3 separate regions of the Homo sapiens genome follow, and all the other regions are linked to region 2. Evidence: promoter capture Hi-C in 16 types of primary human blood cells and fetal thymus (Javierre and others, 2016). All regions are on one chromosome and are shown on one strand. Each heading gives the region's core, a stretch centred on a gene start or on the middle of the fragment in contact. The rest is flanking DNA. Distances are from core to core; before and after follow the strand shown. Region 1 has its middle 12 kb from the start of GBGT1. Region 2 holds the start of SLC2A6 (solute carrier family 2 member 6). Region 3 holds the start of SARDH (sarcosine dehydrogenase).

The links. The method cuts DNA at HindIII sites, captures the fragments that hold promoters and counts their contacts. A CHiCAGO score of 5 or more calls a contact.
Region 1: a fragment that was not itself captured here is called in contact with the fragment with the promoter of SLC2A6 in region 2 in 1 of 17 cell types (total CD8 T cells); the score reaches 6.9 in total CD8 T cells.
Region 3: the fragment with the promoter of SARDH here is called in contact with the fragment with the promoter of SLC2A6 in region 2 in 1 of 17 cell types (non-activated CD4 T cells); the score reaches 5.4 in non-activated CD4 T cells.

What each region holds. Positions count from the first base shown.
Region 1 is chr9:133,174,442-133,177,293 of GRCh38, reverse strand. No RefSeq gene overlaps it. Among named protein-coding and RNA genes, the nearest start is that of GBGT1, 12 kb to the right of the region's middle. The HindIII fragment of the contact is 2,504 bases long and covers 82-2,585 here.
Region 2 is chr9:133,477,487-133,480,635 of GRCh38, reverse strand. It overlaps SLC2A6 (solute carrier family 2 member 6), which reads left to right and starts at 1,537. Exons shown (of 10, transcript NM_017585.4): 1 at 1,537-1,668; 2 at 2,220-2,382. The coding sequence starts at 1,577. RefSeq lists enhancers at 1,026-1,527, 1,948-2,007 and a silencer at 1,138-1,787. The HindIII fragment of the contact is 7,664 bases long and covers 1-3,149 here.
Region 3 is chr9:133,736,766-133,739,723 of GRCh38, reverse strand. SARDH (sarcosine dehydrogenase) reads left to right here and starts at 1,372. Exons shown (of 21, transcript NM_001134707.2): 1 at 1,372-1,470. The HindIII fragment of the contact is 9,698 bases long and covers 1-2,958 here.

The DNA.
Region 1 (2,852 bases), core at 84-2,583, 300 kb after region 2:
AAAAGGATGTAAATTTAATGTGATGCACAGACTCACGGAGGGCCCAGACGGCCGCCTGGTCCTTCCTGAGTCTTTGAAGCTTCCATTGTTGAAAACGCTGCACTCCACCGCTCATCATGGAACAGACAAAATGATCCAAATTATGAAAAAATACTGGTCGGGTGACTGTTCCAAAATTGCTAAAATGGTTTATAATCAATGTTTGACTTGTCAAACTCATAATCCTGGAAAAACAATCAAAACTTCAGGTCATATATTTCCACCACCTGATGAACAATTTGAGCATTTACAGATGGACTTAATTTAGTTGTGACGCGCAATGGGGTATCAGTATGTTCTTGTAATAGTTTGCATGTTTTTGGCCGGGCGTGGTGGCTCACGTCTGTAATCCCAGCCCTTCGGGAGGCCGAGGTGGGTGGATCACAAGGTCAGGAGATCGAGACCATCTTGGCTAACATGGTGAAACCCCCTCTCTACTAAAAAATACAAAAAAATTAGCCGGGCGTGGTGGCAGGCACCTGTAGTACCAGCTACTCGGGAGACTGAGGCAGGAGAATGGTGTGAACCCGGGAGGCAGAGCTTGCAGTGAGCCGAGATCGCGCCACTGCACTCCAGCCTGGGCAACAGAGCAAGACTCCGTCTCAAAAAAACAAAAAGGGGCCCCTTCAGAGTCCTGGAACTGTACACCTGTTGGAGACTTTAAAGTAAAGCTGACCAAGGAAATCTCTCTTCAGAAGCAGACAGCATCCTAGTTTTGGACAGCTTTCCCAAGATCATGGACCAAGACTTCTCTATCATCAGGAAAGCCTTATGTGTTTTTCTGTTTTCCTCATCTTCTGCCCTAATCTTGTCCTTTTCCCTACAGGCAAACCCATGGCACCATAATCAGTGGATGGCTTTAGCTCAAGTTTATGCTCTAGCACAAAACCAGAGTAATTGTTGGGTTTGTGGGCTAATGCCAAAAAAAAATCAGGAAATGATTCCACTGGTGCCAGTGCCCCTCCGCGTTCCCAGCGAGAGCTACCTGAAACTAAGGGAAGAACAGAAAGTTATTCTTGATATGCTAAACATCACTGCTACTTGCTTCCTACACTCACTAAAAACAACACTCTAACTTTTTCAATTGATAAGTCGATCATTACCAAATATAAAAAAACAATCCAAGGCTGGGTGCAGTGGCTCATGTCTGTAATCCCAGCACTTTGGGAGGCTGAGGCAGGTGGATCAACTGAGGTCAGGAGTTTGAGACCAGCCTGGCCAACATGGTAAAACCCCATCTCTACTAAAAATACAAAAATTAGCCAGGCATGGTGGTAGGCGCCTATAATCCCAGCTACTGGGGAGGCTGAGGTAGGAGAATCACTTGAACCTGGGAGGCAGAGGTTGCAGTGAGCCAAGATCGTGCCATTACACTCCACTCCAGCCTGGGCAACAAGAGCGAAACTTCGTCTCAAAAAAAAAAATCCAAGTGATGCCAGCAAAAGATACATTGTGCTTCCAGACATCACGCACTCAAGATTTGGGAATTACTTATGTTGATACAAGTGATTGCTTGTATAATGTAACTGGATTAAATCCAGTAGGGTCTCTTTTTTACTAGATATGGTTATATACCCTTACAACATGCTATAAAGGGGCCACAGAAAAGTAAATTTCCCACTGGACGTTGTTCAGGAGGTATGCAGATTTGTGGTCGAACAAACCTGACTGATCTCTGCTCAAATGCAACTAGGTGGCCCTCTTTTCCAATCCCCAAGGGTCTATACTGGGTCTGTGAAGAGTCTGCGTATCCTGTTCTGCCTCCTCATTGGTTGGGTTCTTGTTATGTGGCCTGGCTTGCTCCTGCCTTTCAAATAGCTTCCCCTGAAAATTCTCATGATGGCCCTTATGATTGGAGGCCAAAATGATCAATAACTGAAATTAGCACTAGCCTTGAAATATTTGAGGATAAGCTCGTTTCTACTGAGGAAAGATTCCAGTGGGATTCCTGGGGGTGCACTCTTGGTGGTAGTGAGATAGCAGTTGTATGGAATTTAAAGCTAATTTGTAAATTGGGAAAAATCTTGGATTTTGTAATCAATCAGACCTCCCAGGGTTTCAGATGGGTAGAAGCTGCTCTCAGAAAGATAGATGACAGGGCTGGGCATGGTGGCTCACGCCTGTAATCCCGGCATTTGGGAGGCCAAGGCGGGCAGATCTCTTGAGGTCAGAAGTTTGAGACCAGCCTGGCCAACATGGTGAAACCCCATCTCTACTAAAAATACAAAAATTAGCCAGGCATGGTGGCTCATGCCTGTAATCCCAGCTACTTGGGAGGCTGAGGCAGTAGAATCGCTTGAACCCAGGAGGCGGTGGTTGCAGTGAGCCAAGATAATGCCATTGCACTCCAGCCTGGGCAACAGAGTGAGACTCCATCTCAAAAAAAAAAAAGATAGATGACAACACGTGAATTCAGCAAAAACACTTACTGGAACATCGTGCAACCTCAGATCTTTTTGCTCAAGCTGGAAGCCTAGGTTTGGTGTTAAACAAAACTGAATGTTGTACTACTTATCTCTTACCTGATTTTGTTATTACAGGAAGCTTAATTTAAAAGGTGCTGATACTGCTGTTTCCTTAGACACTGCCACCAAATACATTAAAGACATCTCTCAAGAGAAAGGAGCCCATGACATGTTTACAATAGGCAACTAACGGTTTGCAGGCATCCTAAGGGTGGATGGCAAGCTTGGGTTTTCCAAGGGCTTCTAATCCTTATAATTCTTCTAGTAGGTTTCCAAGTTATTATGACTTGTATTACCAATGTAACAATGAAAATGAGTAACTGTTTAAGTCAGGCCACTTTACAGCAA
Region 2 (3,149 bases), core at 288-2,787:
CCTGGCCTAAAGTTGATTTTAAAAGAAAAAAAATACATTTTAAAAAAAGAGAAGGCCGGGTGCGGTGACTCACGCCTGTAATCCCAGCACTTTGTGAGGCTGAAGCGGAAGGATCACAAGGTCAGGAGTTCAAGACCAAGCTGGCCAACATGGTGAAACCCCGTCTCCACTAAAAATACAAAAATTAGCCGGGCGTGGTGGCACATGCCTGTAATCCCAGCTACTTGGGAGGCTGAGGCAGGAGAATCGCTTGAACTCGGGAGGTGGAAGTTGCAGTAAGCTGAGATCGTGCCACTGCACTCCAGCCTGGCCAACAGAGCGAGACTCCGTCTCAAAAAAAAAAAAAAAAATACACATATAGATATGTAAAAATACATACACATATATATGTATATACGTATATATATGGCCACGAGGACTGTGCAGCCTGATCACCATACCAGGGTGTGCCTGAGTCCAAAGCCTATGATCTTGATGGCAAGAAAACGGTGACGTAAAGGGGCTGCACAGTTTAATGGGGGCCCCAATAGCAAATATGCAAAATAGGCACATGAGGAAAAGACTGGAAGAGGCTAAAACGCCATCAAGGTCAGGCTGACGGGAGATGGATGTGATTTTATTGTTCTATTATGGTTGTATTTCAATCATAATAAAAGGGAATTCTAACTTTTAAAAATGCTTTACCATGTTAATAGCTAAAATGGGAAATGACCCAAATACTCAGCAACAAAGGCTCCGTTTAAAAGCGTGTGTGGCACGTCCATCCAACAGAGCAGGGCGTGATTCCGTCCTCTTCCCGAAAAGGCCCAAAGGGAGAGGTGGAACTGCTGTGGGATTTTTTGAGGACGGTCTTCCCGGGAATTTTCCATTTCTGCTTTTCTTATTTTTCAATGTTATCTTACTACCTGGGTTACGTGTCACGAGCTCAGGTTATTTCTACCACCAGAGCCTGGGGTGGAGGATACAGACCTCGCCCACTGGAGCTGCCCACAGCGCCTCGCCGGCCCCTCCTGCCTCCTTCGTCCCGCACATCCGCTGCTGCCCTGACACACCCCGATTCCCTGGTGCCAGGGAGAGCCAGGGCAGAGGTGGCCCTGAGACGCCACGCGACGGGGAGGGCTAGAGCGTAAGGAGGAGCGAGGTGCGCATTCGCTGTGACCCTGGCGCTCGGCTTCGCCTCTCTGGGCCTCGGTTTCCACCCCGCGGGAGCGAGTACGACAGGGGCTGCGCGCATTGCCGCAGTCACGCCTGCAAGAGCCGGGCCGGGTGAGCCGCTTCCGGCGCTCCGCGGGGGCCCCGGACGATCCAGCAGGGGCTCCGCCCTGGGACCCCCATCCTGTCTTGGGGCGTGACCTTCGGGGGCGCACGCGGTGCCGGCCGCGCCCGGGGAAGCCGGGTCCGCATCCGAGCATCAGGACAGCCTGCGGCCGCCCCATTGGCCGGCGTGTCTCTGCAGGGCCGTCCCACAGCCAATAGCGGCCAAGGGGCGGAGCCTGGCCGGTGCCCTCGGAGCTGCTGGCCCCGGGCGGCTGCTCCAGTCTGAGCGCCCTCCGCTCGCCCCGAGAGAGACCCGGCCATGCAGGAGCCGCTGCTGGGAGCCGAGGGCCCGGACTACGACACCTTCCCCGAGAAGCCGCCCCCGTCGCCAGGGGACAGGGCGCGGGTCGGGTGAGAGTCGCTAGGTTGGGGGCTGCGGGTGGGGCCTGGGGGTGGCCCTGGTTCCCTCCAGCCGGCGGCAGGCTCCCGCCCTGGGCCTCCCCTGACCTAGTCGCCACCGAGGGGCCATCTGGCTCCCTCCTGTCCCAGACACGCTACTCCTATTTAAGGAACTGGTCCCCCTAAGGGAAGGAACGATCCACGAGAGTACCGGGCCCAGCCCCCCACTGCCACAGACAGTGAGACTGAGGCCCCAGCGAGCAGGGGTTCTGCCTGAGGTCACACAGCAAGCCTCCAGCCGCCGCCCTGGGGGCAGAACCAGAGCCTCCTCTTCCGGAGAAAAGGCCCCAGCACCAGAGGCTCAGCCACTGCGGATGAGCTAACAATGGCCTGGGAATTTCCCAGGGGAGCTGGGGCTCAGGCCCTGGGAACGTGAATGGCCTTGGACCCAGGCCTCCCTAGCACTGCCCGCTGAGCCGGGCAGCCACTGGGTTCAGAAAAGGCAATGGTCCCTGGAGGAGGGACTCAGAGACCCTGGTCTTTTTGTCCGCCACCATCACCAGGACCCTGCAGAACAAAAGGGTGTTCCTGGCCACCTTCGCCGCAGTGCTCGGCAATTTCAGCTTTGGGTATGCCCTGGTCTACACATCCCCTGTCATCCCAGCCCTGGAGCGCTCCTTGGATCCTGACCTGCATCTGACCAAATCCCAGGCATCCTGGTTTGGGGTAAGGACCATCCTCTGGAGGAGGGTGGGTGCAGGAAGGAGGGACCTGCTGAGCCTTATCTCCAGCTAGGAACCTCCCAAATTCTCCACCTTGGGGGTCCCTCCAGGGCCCTGGTCCCCCCTCCCCCAGCCATCCAGGCCACTAGTGGGTGGGGTAAAGCTACAGGATTCCTCTGAAATGAGGAACTGAAAGCCAGTGGAGAGGGTGAGGGAAGGAGCAGGTGGGGAGGTGGCTGTCAGGGTCTATACTAGGTGGGGCTGAGGCTTCCCCGGGTCCCCACACCCACAGTTGGCTGGATGGGGGCAAGGGTATCAGGTGTCAGTGGGGAGAGGCACTGGCTGGGGCAAGGAGAGTCCGCAGGACAGATTGTGGGCTGATGGAGAGGAAGATCCCAGAGTCCCAGAGTCTAAAATTATAATCTTAATAGCCTCATATGTAGAGTTGTTAACATAGTAGTTAAGATAAAAATTCCCAAGGTTTACTGAGCACTTCCTATGTGCCAGGCATGTGTTGGGCACTGAACGTTCATTGATTCTCAGGGCCAACGCCACGAGGTAGAACTTGCGCTCTCCCCATAAGACAGCTGAAGAAACTGAGGTGCAGACAGGCTGGGCAATGTGCCCAGGTCCCACTACCAGTTAGCAGAGTCCAGAGGGGGTCCCAGTTGCTGCTGTACAGGGAACTTAAGAACCTCCAAATCTTAAAGCCCAGTACCTTCAAGTCACAGAATTCTCCTGTATTAAAATATTAGACATTTAAACATCAGG
Region 3 (2,958 bases), core at 123-2,622, 260 kb before region 2:
CCTCTGCCCCAGGACCCCCACACCACCCCAGGTAAGCCTCAAACTGGCGGGGCCAGCTTTCCACTGGGCAGCCAGGGGCCTAAGCCAGTGGGCCCTTTGCCTTTGAGGCAGGGACTGAGAATGGTGTCAGCACGTGGTCAGGCCCAGAGCCCAGGCCCCCTCCTCTAAGAGGTCCTCCTGGATTCCCTGCTGGAAGGAAGCCAGCCTTGTGGTGTCGTGTCTCTCCCTGGATCTGTCTGCTTCGTGGACCCTGAGCCCCTCGAGGGCAGGGGCTGGGTCTTAGATGTCACTATAGGTTTCCCAGCAGTGCTTTGTACACATTGGGCATTCAGTAAATGTAGAGGATAGACAAGCTGGCAACAAGACAGTCGGACATCCTCGGTGTGAATAAGAACACAATGATTTGATTGGTATTAATTACAGCAGTTTACTATACGATCGCTTCCGGTATTGGCAGCTGGCATCATTACAATATTAACAGACTGCCATTGAAATGCCCCGTCTTTGATCCAGCGCGAGGAGGAGATGTGACTTTCCATCAGCACCTGTTCTGATTCTTTGGGCATCCAGAGGTGTATTCTTTCTGGGTTTCCTCCACACCCCTCCTCTGGGTGTCTACTTCTGTCTGGGAAGGGGTAACTTGCCCCAGCCCAGAGTCAGGCTGCAGCATCCGGTCTGCCTCCTCCACCAGCTTGCTGTGTGGCCCCCTCCCTGGGCACTGCTGTCCCCAACAGTCAATGGAGGCTGGAATCCCTGCCCTGGGGGCTACGTGCTGTGCAGTAGCCAGTGGCTTGGGGGCATCTCCCCAAACACCAGAGGGGTCTGGGAGCTCGGGAAAGCAGGACGCAGACAGACCAGGAGACCCTGTCCCTGGGAAGCTGACCCAGGCCTTCTCACTCGCCTCTGAAGGCAGTGAGCATCCTGTCCCTGGGGGTGAGCAAACTGGGGCATGTGCTGAGATGACCTCACCAAAGGAGCCTCCCTGCAGTGGACGGGCCCCTGGCCCAAGCTGCTGCTGACCCCACCTTTCCTGCCCACCCTGCCTGTGCATAGCTCCTTCTGGGCGCGGGGAGCTCGGGCGGCTCCAGCAGGCAGGTGGTGCCTGGGTCTACTGCAGCAACCCTGAGGCGCCTGTTTCAGAGACGAGGAAATGAGGGTTGGAGCGGAAGGGTGACTGCCAGGTCGCCTACGGGTAATGGGGCATGGGGTTCACAACCCTGCTCTGCCGCCCTCAGAGGGAGCTGCCCACAGGGCTGGCCTAGAAGCCCCAACTAAGCTGGCCTAGAAGCCGCAGTGGTGGGCGGTACGCTCCGCCCAGATCCTGGGCGGAGACATGGGGCTGGCAGCGAGGGTGGGGGGCGGGGGAGGCCTGGAGTTCCGGCCAGGCCACTGCTTGGGAAGCAAGAAGGTGAAGGCACCTCTGCTGGGCCAAGCACTCTTAGGGCCGAGGGGCACTGCAGCTGACAAGAGGTACTTGGAGGTACACCCCCAGGGAGGGACGAGGCTGGGGCCTCCCCTATGTGGGCGGGGCTGGGCCTGGTCAGATCTGGCTGGGATCTCCCTCTGCCTCTGGCTGCAGGGACCATCCAGCTGCATGAGCAGGACCAGGGTTCACCATATGGGCAGCTGCCTCCCCGCCCCCTGCCGCTCCTCCCCACAAGTCTGCCTACCCTCACCAGGCGAAGGTGCCAGGCGCTCTCCTCGCTTGACCCCCACCACCCCCTGAGCCTGGGAGGAGGAGGGCGTTCCTGGGTCCTCTGCTTTGCAGTGAGGTTAAGTTGTTGCTCGAGGCCCCAGTCCTGTGACAAAACCCCCACCCATCTGTCTGATCCCAAGCCCAGGGCTGTCCTCAGCCCTCACTCCTGGGAAGCTGACTCAGGTACGAGACAGAGTTGGAGGGGGCAAGAGAGTGGGTTAATGTGGAGGCAGCTGTTTCCAGGGAGGTGGCAGGCAGGAGGGGCTCTGGGCTGTCCCCGCTGGGGCCGCTGCCAGCCCCCAGTCTGACAGTCAGAAGAGCCCTGACTGACCAGGCAGGTGGTGAAGGGGCACGTGGCAGCCTCCGGCGCCAGCAGCTGTCGCTTTTTGGGCACAGTCGGAAGGAGGAGGGAGGCTTTTGCCCACAGCTGACCAGGTGTGCTGTGCCATGCGGCACCGTGGTGGGTGGTGGGTGGTGGGGTGGGGGTGTTCAGCCTTGGAGGGCCTTCCTCGGTGCCACTCAAGCTGGCTTTCCCCTGGTGGGGCACCACTTTTGGGGGCTCCTGGAAGACTGTGGACCTTCAAGGACTGAAGGTATGTACAGACACATGCAGGAGGCATGCCTCCTTGTCCGGGGCCACCTCTGCAGGCAGGAGCCAGGCGGGCTGACACACTGAGGGCTGAGAGGCTGAGGACAAGCTCCAACACCTCCTCACTCCCCTACGCCGCTGCAATCAGACTCCCTGCTCCCTCCCTTGGGATGGGGCACTGGGGCAGGAGATGGGGGGCAGCCCTGACCAGCCTGAGAGCTGGGATCCCCCTCACATCCCCCACTGTGCCTAGGACAGGGTTCTGGGCTTCGTCAGGGCTTGGGCAGTGCCCACAGTTCAGGTGGGACAGAGTGTGGCAGTGGGTCCTGAGTCCCCCTGGGATGGTCAGAAGAGGGGGCAGGAGAGAGTCCCTGGCACTGCCACATGGAGGCCCTATGACCCTGGTCACCTCAGGGAGCCTCTCCGTGTGTCAGACTCCCCCGCTGTGAAGTAGAGACATTATCATGTGTCTATAGGTGTTCAATGAGAGTGAACGAACGTGCATAGCTATGGTCCACTCTTGAAAAAGGATGCTGACTTTCTTAGATAATTATATCAGTCATTCATACTGACGTAGGTGGCACAGCACTTCACATCTTGGATCACAGCCACATCCCTTTCACTTTTCCTGCAGATCCCAGAAAAGGGCAGTGGAGGTCCACACTGGGCAGGA